Linked DNA regions of Homo sapiens: all the other regions are linked to region 1. The links are contacts of gene promoters, found by promoter capture Hi-C in blood cells and fetal thymus (Javierre and others, 2016). All regions are on one chromosome and are shown on one strand. Each heading gives the region's core, a stretch centred on a gene start or on the middle of the fragment in contact. The rest is flanking DNA. Distances are from core to core; before and after follow the strand shown.

Region 1 (3,852 bases), core at 1,054-3,553:
AACGTGCCTGAATTTCCCAGGTTCTGACTAAACAAGTGGATCATCAAAACTTCAAAATTTAGGATAGAATATTAAGTGGAGCATGCATATTACTGCTTTGGCAGTTGCCCTTTCTTTTGTATTAACGTTTCAGTCCAGGTTTTTCGAAAAGCAAGTAATTATTACACACGCACAGTTAACATTCAAATTATCACTTTTGAGATATTTTCCTTAGACAATTTAGCATATCTCTTCTATCTTAAAAATTAAAGTATCCTACCCACCACGAGTTAATTTTTTTTAACAAAAACATCTAAAATAACCCTCGACAAAGCCAAAGTATATTAAACCACAAAATGAAAAAGTGGTAAGTAAAAGTCTCACCAGCTAAAAAGCACTTCGAGTACCAACAGCCTTCCCCGGCTCGCTGTTAACCGTCAAACCGTCAAAGCATTTGTGGAGGAACCTGGGGCAAAGTTCCGCGCCGGGTTCTCCAGCTGTGGGTTCATCAGCTTAGCCCACCACTCCCACGTAACACCAGTTTGGGGAAATGCAAACACGCCACATGTGCCCACATGTGCATGTTTTGATCATGTTTAACCACTTTTAACCGCCGTAGGTACGTAATCAGCTCCCGCGGCAAAGGTTTAAGAAAAAAAAAAAAAAAGCCTTGTGCATGCATCTTACCCCCACTTAAACCACCACCACCAGATGAACCGAGGCGAATTAAACCATTTTGAACGTTAACGCCGCTGCACAAAGCGGTATGAAAGGGTTCTCTGCCTTTCTGAAACGCCGGGCAAAAGTCCCTCAGCAAGTTTCAAAACTAATGACCGTACAGCGCTGCACAAATAACAAAAGCTTAATACCAACCACCAGGCCGTCAACCCGCTCACGTTACCACTGCCCAGAAGGCTTTTAAAAACAAGCATTGAAAAGGGAACAATAAAAAGCGTCTCACCGCAAACACAGCACGAAAGGGACTGTCGGAAGTAAGGCAAGAGCCTGTTAATCTCAGTAAACGCCTTGGGGTCTCCGGGGTCGTAGTTGAGCACTAGGCGGCTCGCGGAAATGTAGAGAGCAGTAGCATTCACGGGGTTCATTGCAGACACTTCGACACCAATGGCTCCCGGTTGAAAAGAAATTCCGGATCCAACTTAGTAAGCAGCCAGGGAACGATGGCGAATTTGCAACAATTCGGAAGAAATCAGAGCCGAACCATTGGCCAAACAAGTAACCAAAATCCGTGCAAGTTTGTGGAGCTGAAACAATCCTCCCACACATGGGGCCTTGGCGCCCCTCCGTCCCTGAGACTTCCAGACCAAAAATATGAGAGAGAAACCAGCGTTCGAGTTCGTCCGGAGCGACCACAGAGCGCAGAACGCGGCGGCTTGGGCGCTCGGGGCGGGACTCGGAGCTCAGTCTAGCCCCGCGGCTCGGCAGGCGGCCTGCACTCGAGCTCCATCTCCGGACACGGAGGCGCCTCCTCAAGTCGAGCTGGCAGGCGCGGGAGCAGGCCCCGGCCCCGTCTGAGGCGCGGCACGCTTCTCCCGGGCTGCAGGGCCTCTTACTCCATCCCAGTACAGGGCGCGGAGGCGGCGGCGACGGCAAGGACGACGGTCGGGCAGCGGCTTCCCGGATCTAGTGCAAGACGCCGCGGCGGCGACGAAGGTTGATGTTGCGGCTGGCGGACGCCGCCGCCGCGCTCTCCATATCGGACGCGGGGCCCAGACTGCGCCCTGGCTCTCCGCCCCGTGGGTTGCAGCCCGCAGTTCCCCGAGGTGGCGAGGCGGGCGGGAGTCCTCAACCCGGAGGGGAAGGCCGGGGAGGAAGTGCGCGGGCCGCCGCCGGCGGGCGGGAGGGGGCGGGGGGCAAGCCCGGCCGGGCCGCGGCGGCGCCCCTCGCGCCTCAGTCGCACACTCCGGGGTCACCAGACTCAAGCGCCGCCCCCTCACTGCCCGGCCATTTTTTCGGCGCCACACACACAGACGACTCCTCCGCCGAGCACGACGGCCGCCGCCGCCCTCAGCACTCCCCGGCCGCGGAAGGCAAGCGCTCACACCGCCAGGCCCCGCCGCCGCCCAGCGCACACAGCAAGGCCCCGCCGCAGGCCCCTCCCCCGTGCCTCGCCGCCCTCACCCCGACTCCACGCGCCACTCCAGCTCGGTAGGGCCCGGGCTGCTGCGGCCTTAATGGATCCCGCGGGCTGTGTGGCGCCTCAGGCCTCTGCTGGCGGCGACGACGACCGTTACCCCAACGGGCAAAGCCACTGTCATCCCCGAGACTCCCCCGCCGCCGTCGTCGCTAGCGCTCGCACGCATGCGCAGAGCACACTCTCACCCCTCCCCCCTTTCCTCTCCCTTCGCTTCCCTTTTCCCTTGCTTCTCCTCTAACAACCCCCTCCACAGCCTCCCAGAGCTACCGGCTCACTCCACGCATGCGCAAGCTGCTACCTAGCTCCGCCGCCTTTCGCCCTTCCGCGTGCGCTTTGACCGCCCACCCAGAAAACCGGATAAACACATCAGCCTGCTCGCGCCAGTCCCTCACCGCTGCCAACCCACCCTGGGCTCACTGCGCATGCCTGGCTCTCCACTTCGACTCTCAGAATGGAGCATGCTCTCTGCGAGCCGACAGCTCTCTTCGCCCCTCCCCCACGTGCTCTCAAATTCCCTCTCCCAGGCATGTGGGCTGTGGTGAAACATTCGTTAGCTGGCACATCCTTCCCCAGTGTGGGCTGCAGGCTTCCCGCATTACACTGCTTCTGTGCCCGCCAACGCCGGGGCCCGACTTGGTAGCGCCATGTGGCGCTCTGCACTGGCCTGAACGCGGCCTCTCGTCCTGACTGACCGCGGTGTGAGGAAATAGCCGCGCCAGGCCCCAAGCCCCGCCCTCGCGGCCTTTCTCCTGGAACCGCTCATCCCGACCGCGGAAAGGGCGCAGCCTCGGCTGGCTGGCAGGCTCTCGCCGAGCCGGGAAGGCTGCAGTAGTCAACGTGGCTGCGCGCCCAGCAGGCGTGCGGACGGCTTTTGCCGGGTCGGGGCCGCGTTCCGCACCTCTCTGCGGTGGTTCGCAGTCAGAGGGCTCTAAGGCCCTGGCAGGCTGTATGTAAGCGTGGAGGCTCGAACCCACTGCCCCCTCCTACCCGTCGGACCCGCGCTGTTCCCACGGCCTCTGGCCCTTGGACTCGTGCGGCCTCACCTTCATGGGTGCCGATCAGGACTTCACCGAGCTCTCACCGGAACAGAGTCCTGTTTTAAAAACAAAACGAACTCCTTTTTTTTTTTTTTGAAAGACCTAGCTTTTTTAAAAGACCTAGCTCTTCTGTGTGAACAGATGTCTTGAAGAATGCGTGATCTTGCTCTAGAACAAACCCAAATCCTTGCAAATGTTTTGTTTTTTAAAACAAGCTTTTGCCTTTTGTTTTTGCAGGAGATCAAGGGCACTGGGATATAAATAAACAAAAGCCTGACTTAGTAGATGACTTCCCTCCCATCTCAAAGTACAAAACCTTTTTTTGAGTAGCACAAATAGTAACAGGCCATAGGAAGCATTTCTTATCTCTGTACACACCAAAGCTCCTCAGCATAATTTTTCATGCACAGTAGGTACTCTATACGTTTGCAAAGTGAAAATTATGATGCGTGTAAATCTATTGTGGCACATGTTACATATGTACACAGGCACGTATATGGAACATGTAAATGTGGTACGTGTTAGTTACAAGCTGCCACTTGAGGTGAGTAGGAATAGTTAAGATATCAAGGGAACACATATAATCTCGATTTATAATTTCTATTACCATTTGAAGACAGGTTTTTTTTTCACAAGACCTACCATATTATCAACACTTAAATATTAAGCAGTAAGAATATA
Region 2 (3,465 bases), core at 215-2,714, about 13 Mb before region 1:
CTATTTCTATTACATAAACCCTGAAAGCATCTGATTTTGCCAGTGCTTCCCCAGGATGTCCCTAGAATTTTTAAAAATCCTAATATAAGCTTGCTTCAGTTGATTTCCCAAAAAAGTCGAATATAAAATACATTCAAGGTAACCTAAGTTAAATGAGATTCTACCCAATCTAGAACATCAAAAAGCCTAGGTATCAACACTTTAGTATGTGAGGAGGCAAAATTTCAAAATTTAACATGAATCCAAAGGGGGTATGCTACTTCAATATAATTTAGTTGCATGTTTTTCTTCATACCAATGGAAATCAATAACAACAATAAATCTCAGGACCTACCTCCAATAAGGCTCCAGTTTGAAAGAATTTCAAAGGCTTTTCAATTGAATAATAAAGGCTATGGTAGCTACCCTTAGCCAGGTATGCTCGGACCAGACCAACCGCTATAACCAGCCACCTAGTAAAAGAGAAAACAGCAATCAGGAAAAAATAAAAATAAAAAAAGTAGCATTTAGGTTAACACACAGCTGTGGCAATAAAAGATATTGCTAAAGGTGACCTCAAGCATGAGTAACCTGGATTTATGGACGATAGCTCTCAAATGCCAAGCTGTAATGCACTGAAATGTTGCAACACCGACAGCACCTTACCAAGAGGGCTCAGTGAAAGCATAGTGGCACCTCACCCATCTGGAGCTCATTTTTTTGGCAACTTTGCTATTGAGATCAAGGCCAAAAGGAAAGGAATAAGCTAAAATGGTCCTTGTGCCACTAAATCAGGTGCCAAGAAAATCTAAGACGAGAAAAAAACAGTTAAAGGAAAATTTTAAACAGCCTGTGCAGTTAAAGGGTTTTTAATAATTACAGGGTGGAAAGAAGATGCTTTAAACTATTGTTATAATTGTCTCACTGGAACAATTACCCATACCTTAAAATCTATCCTTTTAAAATTACGAATAAAGGGCTCTTGCTAAAAAAAAAAAGTTTTTTAGCCAAATTTCCTAAAATCAATGCAGAAATGAAAGCCAGATCAATACAAACCACGAAACAGGAAAGCACTTAAGCATACAGCTGTGAATGTTATATTTTTGTTCCACTGTCCTTCTCAAAAATAAACACAATGTTTTGTTAAGTTCCATAATAAAACAAATGGACCTTTTTATTAAGGTATGTCTCCTGGAAGGATTTAGATAAATGTATAGTATCAACTAGGCAATGGGGTGTGTGTGGTCTATGCTATTTCCAAAAACTATCACATAAGGACATCAAGTAAGAGTTTGTAAAAGAAGAAATTATTTAATGGTGTAACTGGTACAACCATTAACAGCCTTAAAAAAAAAGCTTACTTTGCTCTCACAATCCCAATTTATCTTCCTGGTTTAAGATACCACTCCTTACCCTCCACCCCATTCTCTATGTTCATTGCTCAGGAATAGACTTCTTTCTTCTTACCAATGTACCTCAAAATCCCTCTCCAGTCCAATGCCCTCACCGGCTCTTGCTAAGACAACAAGAATTTTATATATAAATATTAATACACACAGTGAGATTCCTGGATGTTTTTTTAAAAATCAATCTATGTGACCACTGATGTGATATAAAGCTTGTATCTGTACTAGTTCTTCATTGACCTGTGAGTCAAGAGAAATGATTTCTAGATCTGGAACTTCTACTAACAAGTTCTATGATCTCATGCAAGTCACAACTTCTCTGAGCCTAGGTTCCAACACCTACCATTTCTAATACTAGCAATACATATATGATCCTCCCACGATATATTTTCTTCTTCGTGAAAAAAAAGCAAGGTGCTGAACTGTAAAAATATTAATATATTGGCATTTGTCTTATTTTAAAAAGGGATAGGGGGATGTATAAACATATTTGCTTGCATCAGCATCTTAAGGATACACAAAATTAACTGCCTCGAGGGAGGGGAGCTGGGTAGAAGGGAAAGGTGGGAGGAAAGATTTTCACTGTATTCCCTCATGTTTTTCATTTTTAACCCTAACAATGTATCACCTACTTTAAATAAAAATGGATGTTCACTATACAATTCTTTCAACTCTTCTGTATGTTTGAAATTTTTCATAATAAAATGTTAGGACTTCTTAAAAAATTACAAATGAAGATAACTTAAAAATATATAACTGTCTGATGCTGTGATCCTCCTCACCAAAATGACAAGATAAAGAATTGCAGAGCTGAAGGAACCTTCATCACCCAGACCAACCCTTTAGTTTTACAAATGAAAAAACGGAGGCTAGAGAAATAAGATGATTTATCCAAAGTCACACAGCTAGTTAGTGGCAGAGCTTGAACTAAAAACCCGCCGGGATAAGGGATGCACTGAAATGAAAGAGACAGAAGATGGGTAAAACCGTTTCGAGGGTCCATTCTCCCCCTTTCCAGTAACTCTGCCTTCTACTCCCCAGTTTCTTCCCCACCCCAACCCATCCTAAAAGTCTAAACTCATCTAAAGCCTAGCTCTGCTCATGTCGCTGGCCAAAAACTTTGAACGCTTTCCCAATACCTTTCAGATTAAAGCGCAGCCCAGATTTTGAAAACAGCCGCCCAAATGAATGGTCACTCTGCAGCCACAGCTCCTCCACTCCCCATGCTGGCGCCGTTCAACATCCGAATCTGGCCGCCCAGGACGGGCTCCGCGCCGCAGGTAGTCCGGCCGCTGCCCCCGGCCCCGCACCTGTGGCCAGCCCCACCTTTCCTCCCGCGGCCCTCGCGAGCCAGCGCCCGGCAGCCGTCCCCGCGCCCCAGTGCCTGGGAACTTGGCTCGACCCCCAGCGCAGGAGGGAGCTCGCGGGCAGCCACCGGGGCCGATTCAGCGCTCGGCCGCCCTCAGCGCCCAGGTACCGGGTCCCGGGCACCCCCCGCCGGGAATGCACTGCCTGCGGCGGGCCGCGCCGATCCTATCCGCCCCGCCGCTGGCCGCAGGGCTCCCTCCCCGGCCGCGCTGGCTCCCCGCCTCCCCGAGCCCCAGCCTCACCCGGCTGTCATCACCACATTGTAGATGACCAGGTACGCCGTGGCCAGGGGCCCCGGGCCCTTCTTCTTCCGCGTGCCGCTGGCGTCCCCGGCCCCGGCCCTGCCACCGCCGCCCCCATTCCCCTTCGCTGCTGCAGTCGCCGCCACTGCCGCCATGTCAAGTGCCCGAAGCCCGCTCTCCTAGCGCGAGCGGCTCGGGCCGGACTACGCGAGGAGAGGGGGCGGAGGAAGGGACGAGGGGCAGGCGGGGCCAGGGCCGCGGGGCGGAGCCGGGACAGGGTCCACGGCAGCCGCCATCTTGGCTGAGGGCAAAGACGCTCCTGGCGCTCCCGTCTTTCGGCTTGCCTCAGTTGCCACTGCCATCTTGGATCAGGGTAATTCCCGCCTCTTGGGCGCTCCCGGTTACAACCTCGGCGCCATCTTGGATTAGTTCAATGTAGCCACCCTCTCCAGGCCCGCTGCTTCTGCCAG
Region 3 (3,615 bases), core at 218-2,717, about 16 Mb before region 1:
ATCAAATCTTGTCCTTCTCTTTATTCTAAAGGATGGGCAAGTAAACACTGTCATCACTACTTTAACGTGGAAACACTCGAGCACTTGATGAAACTGACTACCAACAGCAAGAAAAGTACAAGAAAGCAGTTTGAAATCGAATCATCCAAATAAATATCATATTATCTCAATTCAAGGTTAATGAGACCGGGGGAGGGGGTATGGGAGGAGTAAAAAGGGAGCTGCTTCATCCTTGACTGAAGATAGGTTTTGCCCTTTTCCATTGCCTGTTTATCAGGAGGTCTAATAATTTCAGATCCTGGTATTTCGAGGTTTCTTATTTTAAGGGCGAGGTGGAAAAGGGGTGTAAAATAAAACCAATACTCACTGCTAACTTTCATGCTGCCAAAAGCTGAAGGCTGCTGCACCGGCTTGCAGCTCTCCGCAAAGGAGGTGGTTCTGGGCCGCCCTGACATGATCACTCTCTTCGCGAATCACCTTTTCCTTCCTTCCTCCTTTTCTTCCTTTTGTCTTTATGTTGGGGTGTTAGGTTAACGATAAATGCAGCATTAAGTTCTCCCACAGAAGAAAAAGAAAAAGACTTCGTCCTCTTGGCTTTTCACTCCTTTTGTATACTATAAAAAACAAAACAAGCGATATATTTCTCCTTCAAGACAGATCGGCACGGATATTTAACATATAGATGATTTAGGACTTGGGAAAAAATACAATTCTTTCCCCTCCCTTTCCTGGGAGGAGAGAAAAGAGAGGGCAAATCCTAAAAAAATATGTATCACGTGAAACGGGGGCAAATACTTGATTGAAAATGAGTACTTCGAATATTATATTTTCCTCGGGGATTTTTTTTCCGAGTCAATGAAGAAGGGAAGCGGCGGAAGGATCACGAGTCTCACGCTTGAAGAGAAAGGGGGATGGGTAGGAGGGAGGGAGAGGGAGGGAGGGGGTGGCTCGGAGATGCGACGGGAAACGCTGCAGCTCCGGCAAGCCGCGGGATCCGGCGGGCTGACGGCAGGGGCCCGGCGAACTAGAGGGCGGCGGAGTCGCGAGTCAGTCAGAGGCGGGCGGTGGCGGTGGCGGCGGCTCCTCTCCTCATTGCGCCAGGAGCAGCTGCAGGCGGCGGCTGGATCCAGCGGCCATGGCGGTGGCGGAGGCAGCTCCCTTCAGACCCCAGGCAGCGGCTCCTCGACTGTTCCCCATTCGCCGGGGACATGGGAACCCGGCAACCGCTTCCGTCCCTCGGGGCCCCCTCCCCCGTCCGCGGCAACAGCTCGGCCGCCCTCCCGCCCCTCGGCTCTGCTCGGTGCCCGCTCAGGAAGTGTCCGCGCTTTGCCCCAGCCCAGAGCCCTGTCAGCGGCTGCGGGGCCGGCTCCTCCTCGCTTCCTTCCTTCCTTTGTCACTTGGCCCGGGCGGCGGCGGCGGCGGCGGCGGCACAAGCCCGCATTCGCCCGGGTCAGGAGCTGCTCTGTGTGAGGAGCGCTGTCTGCGCAGCCGCCTTGCACTTCCCCACTCCTCCTCCCCCCTCCTACTCGTCCTCCACCTCCTTCCTCCCCCACCCAGCCTTACACCGCCCAGCGCCCCGCCGCCCGCGTAACAGGCGTCTGGGAATCGCCGGCCGAGCCCCACGCTCGCCCGCTTCGGCTGGGAGCCGAAGCCCGAACGGAGCCAATCACGGACGTCGTTTGTTTGCGGCTCCTCCCGGAAAAAGCCGATCAGCCTGAGAAACCAATTAGAAAGTGACGCTGGGAAGCCACGCCCAAAGAGCGGAAAATGCCGAAGGTAGCCGAACGGAAAGGGTGAATTCGCCTTGTTCGGTGGCTGGCTGGAGGAGACATTCGACAATGGCAACAGTGGCCAATCAGAGTCGCCGGCCCTTACGAAGAGGCTTGAAGAGTTGAGGACGGTGAAACCCAGAGACGCTGGTGAAACTGCACGGCTGGGCGCCGCCGCCGCTTTGTGATTGGCTGGAAAACTCCGCTGGGAGCGTACCTCCTTCGGTGATTGGTGAAGAGAAGGGGGCTTCCGAGGACAGTCTGGCCAGTCAGGACTTCCCCTCCCTCTCCAAGGTGGGGAGAAGAAAGCGAAGGGAGGGCGTCTATAAAGCGCTGTCTCATTGGCCTGAAGCTTAGGCGCTGGAGTTGGGGCAAAAGGGAGAGGGAGGGAGCCCGAAACTCGCGGCGGCGGCCAATCGGCTCTCACTGCCGTCCAATCGCAAGACCTAGCTGCAGTGTGATTGGCCTTCGGCCCCGGTCCCAGGAGCGGGGAGATGCCTGACTCGGGTCGTGGCTGACGACCCGACGGTTCGCCTGCGGCCGCCTCCAACAACGGTGGAAACCGCACACAGGGACCGCGGGCCCTCGGTGCAGCAAATCGGAAAGTGCTGCGGTCGGCGGCCCTGGGCTCTGAGCGCTCAAGCGAGCAGAGGGGTGGAGGGGCTCTCCCCACCCACAGGAGGCTCTCGGCGGGGCGCAGCCAATTCTGCGCGCCCAAGGCTCCCCTCTGCCGTGGATCGCGTGTGCCGAGTGTTGGCCTCTTCCCCGAAAGGGCCAGACGGACCAAGGGGGCCTTCCCAGCCGGCTGCAAGCTCTCAGACGCTAAAATGGGAACAAAGCTTCCAGAAAGGCAGCGCCTTTGGGCGGCCGCGCCCCGCCCAGCCGCGGGGGCCATTGATACAGAGGCTTGCTGCGCTTGGTGTGCGCGGCCCGGCCGGGCCTCTGGAAACGCCCATGAGAAATGAGCTCATGCTGGATGCGCGCGCTCCTTGGGCGCAACTGCCCAGCGCAAAACGGGCCCCGAAAGCAGGTGAGGGGAAATGCCGTCAGGCCGGATATCCTGAAGCCTCCGAGGAAATGGGGGGGTCAGAGGAGCCCGTGGTAGCTTTGGATCTTTTGGAACTAGGGTGATCTATAAAAGTGCAGCTTGAGAAGATTTCATACATAAGACCAGCGTCCATTGTTCTACCATAGAACCAGTTCCTTTGGTCTGCTTTAGAACAGTGAGGTATGGCTACGTCAAGATAACAGAGAAAGTAGAACAGACAGTTGCCATCCTGATTGTAATCCAGTGGTGCCTGTAATTTCTACCTGCAGAGTCATCTCTTTCTGTTAAGATGCTGTCTCCAGAAAGCACATGTTAAAGGACCTATATTTGATCAGATTACCTGGCTCTTGCTTTGAAACACTGATGAAGGACTTGGGACAGAACAAAGTAAGCTTTGATGGAAGACAGGAAAGGTCTAGATAGTGTTTGCAGATTCAAATGGCTACAGAGGCCAGACAAGTAAAGCAAATGAGTGAGACTGGCCTTGTGTAAGACAATGGGGAATGATAGGGAAAATGGCAAATTGGAATATCCATGCCATAACTAAAAGGAACAGCTGCTCAACTCTAGCAGATTGTTGCCCTCAGGAATGTGGGTCCAGTGTTCTCAGATGTTCAATTTTTTTCCTCCCAAAAGAAACCCCAAAATTGGATTTTTGTGTGAAATCTCTGCATTTTTAAATGTTGGTAACCAAATTTTCAAACCCTGCAGGCCAACCTAAAAACATCCCTTGGCCAATGAGGCATTGGAAAAAGTGTTAATAATTGTTAGGGGCCCGATAGCAGTAGGAGGGTGAAA

Evidence for each region. The method cuts DNA at HindIII sites, captures the fragments that hold promoters and counts their contacts. A CHiCAGO score of 5 or more calls a contact.
Region 2: a contact is called between a fragment that was not itself captured here and the fragment with the promoter of MSL2 in region 1, in 1 of 17 cell types (total B cells). The highest score is 9.1, in total B cells.
Region 3: the fragment with the promoter of GSK3B here is called in contact with the fragment with the promoter of MSL2 in region 1 in 7 of 17 cell types (fetal thymus, non-activated CD4 T cells, total B cells and 4 more); the score reaches 20.4 in fetal thymus.

What each region holds. Positions count from the first base shown.
Region 1 is chr3:136,194,032-136,197,883 of GRCh38, forward strand. It overlaps MSL2 (MSL complex subunit 2), which reads right to left and starts at 2,304. Exons shown (of 2, transcript NM_018133.4): 1 at 941-2,304. The coding sequence starts at 1,082. RefSeq lists enhancers at 1,092-1,161, 1,212-1,261, 1,261-2,007, 1,312-1,381, 2,008-2,754 and 2 more and a silencer at 1,722-2,111. The HindIII fragment of the contact is 2,546 bases long and covers 839-3,384 here.
Region 2 is chr3:123,581,878-123,585,342 of GRCh38, forward strand. HACD2 (3-hydroxyacyl-CoA dehydratase 2) reads right to left here and starts at 3,176. Exons shown (of 7, transcript NM_198402.5): 1 at 2,996-3,176; 2 at 335-452. The coding sequence starts at 3,150. RefSeq lists silencers at 2,501-2,680, 2,691-3,300 and an enhancer at 3,361-3,465. The HindIII fragment of the contact is 262 bases long and covers 1,334-1,595 here.
Region 3 is chr3:120,092,980-120,096,594 of GRCh38, forward strand. It overlaps GSK3B (glycogen synthase kinase 3 beta), which reads right to left and starts at 1,468. Exons shown (of 11, transcript NM_001146156.2): 1 at 368-1,468. The coding sequence starts at 455. It overlaps GSK3B-DT (GSK3B divergent transcript), which reads left to right and starts at 2,125. Exons shown (of 3, transcript NR_186629.1): 1 at 2,125-2,799. RefSeq lists enhancers at 1,647-2,056, 1,683-1,977, 2,257-2,576. The HindIII fragment of the contact is 3,897 bases long and covers 1-2,119 here.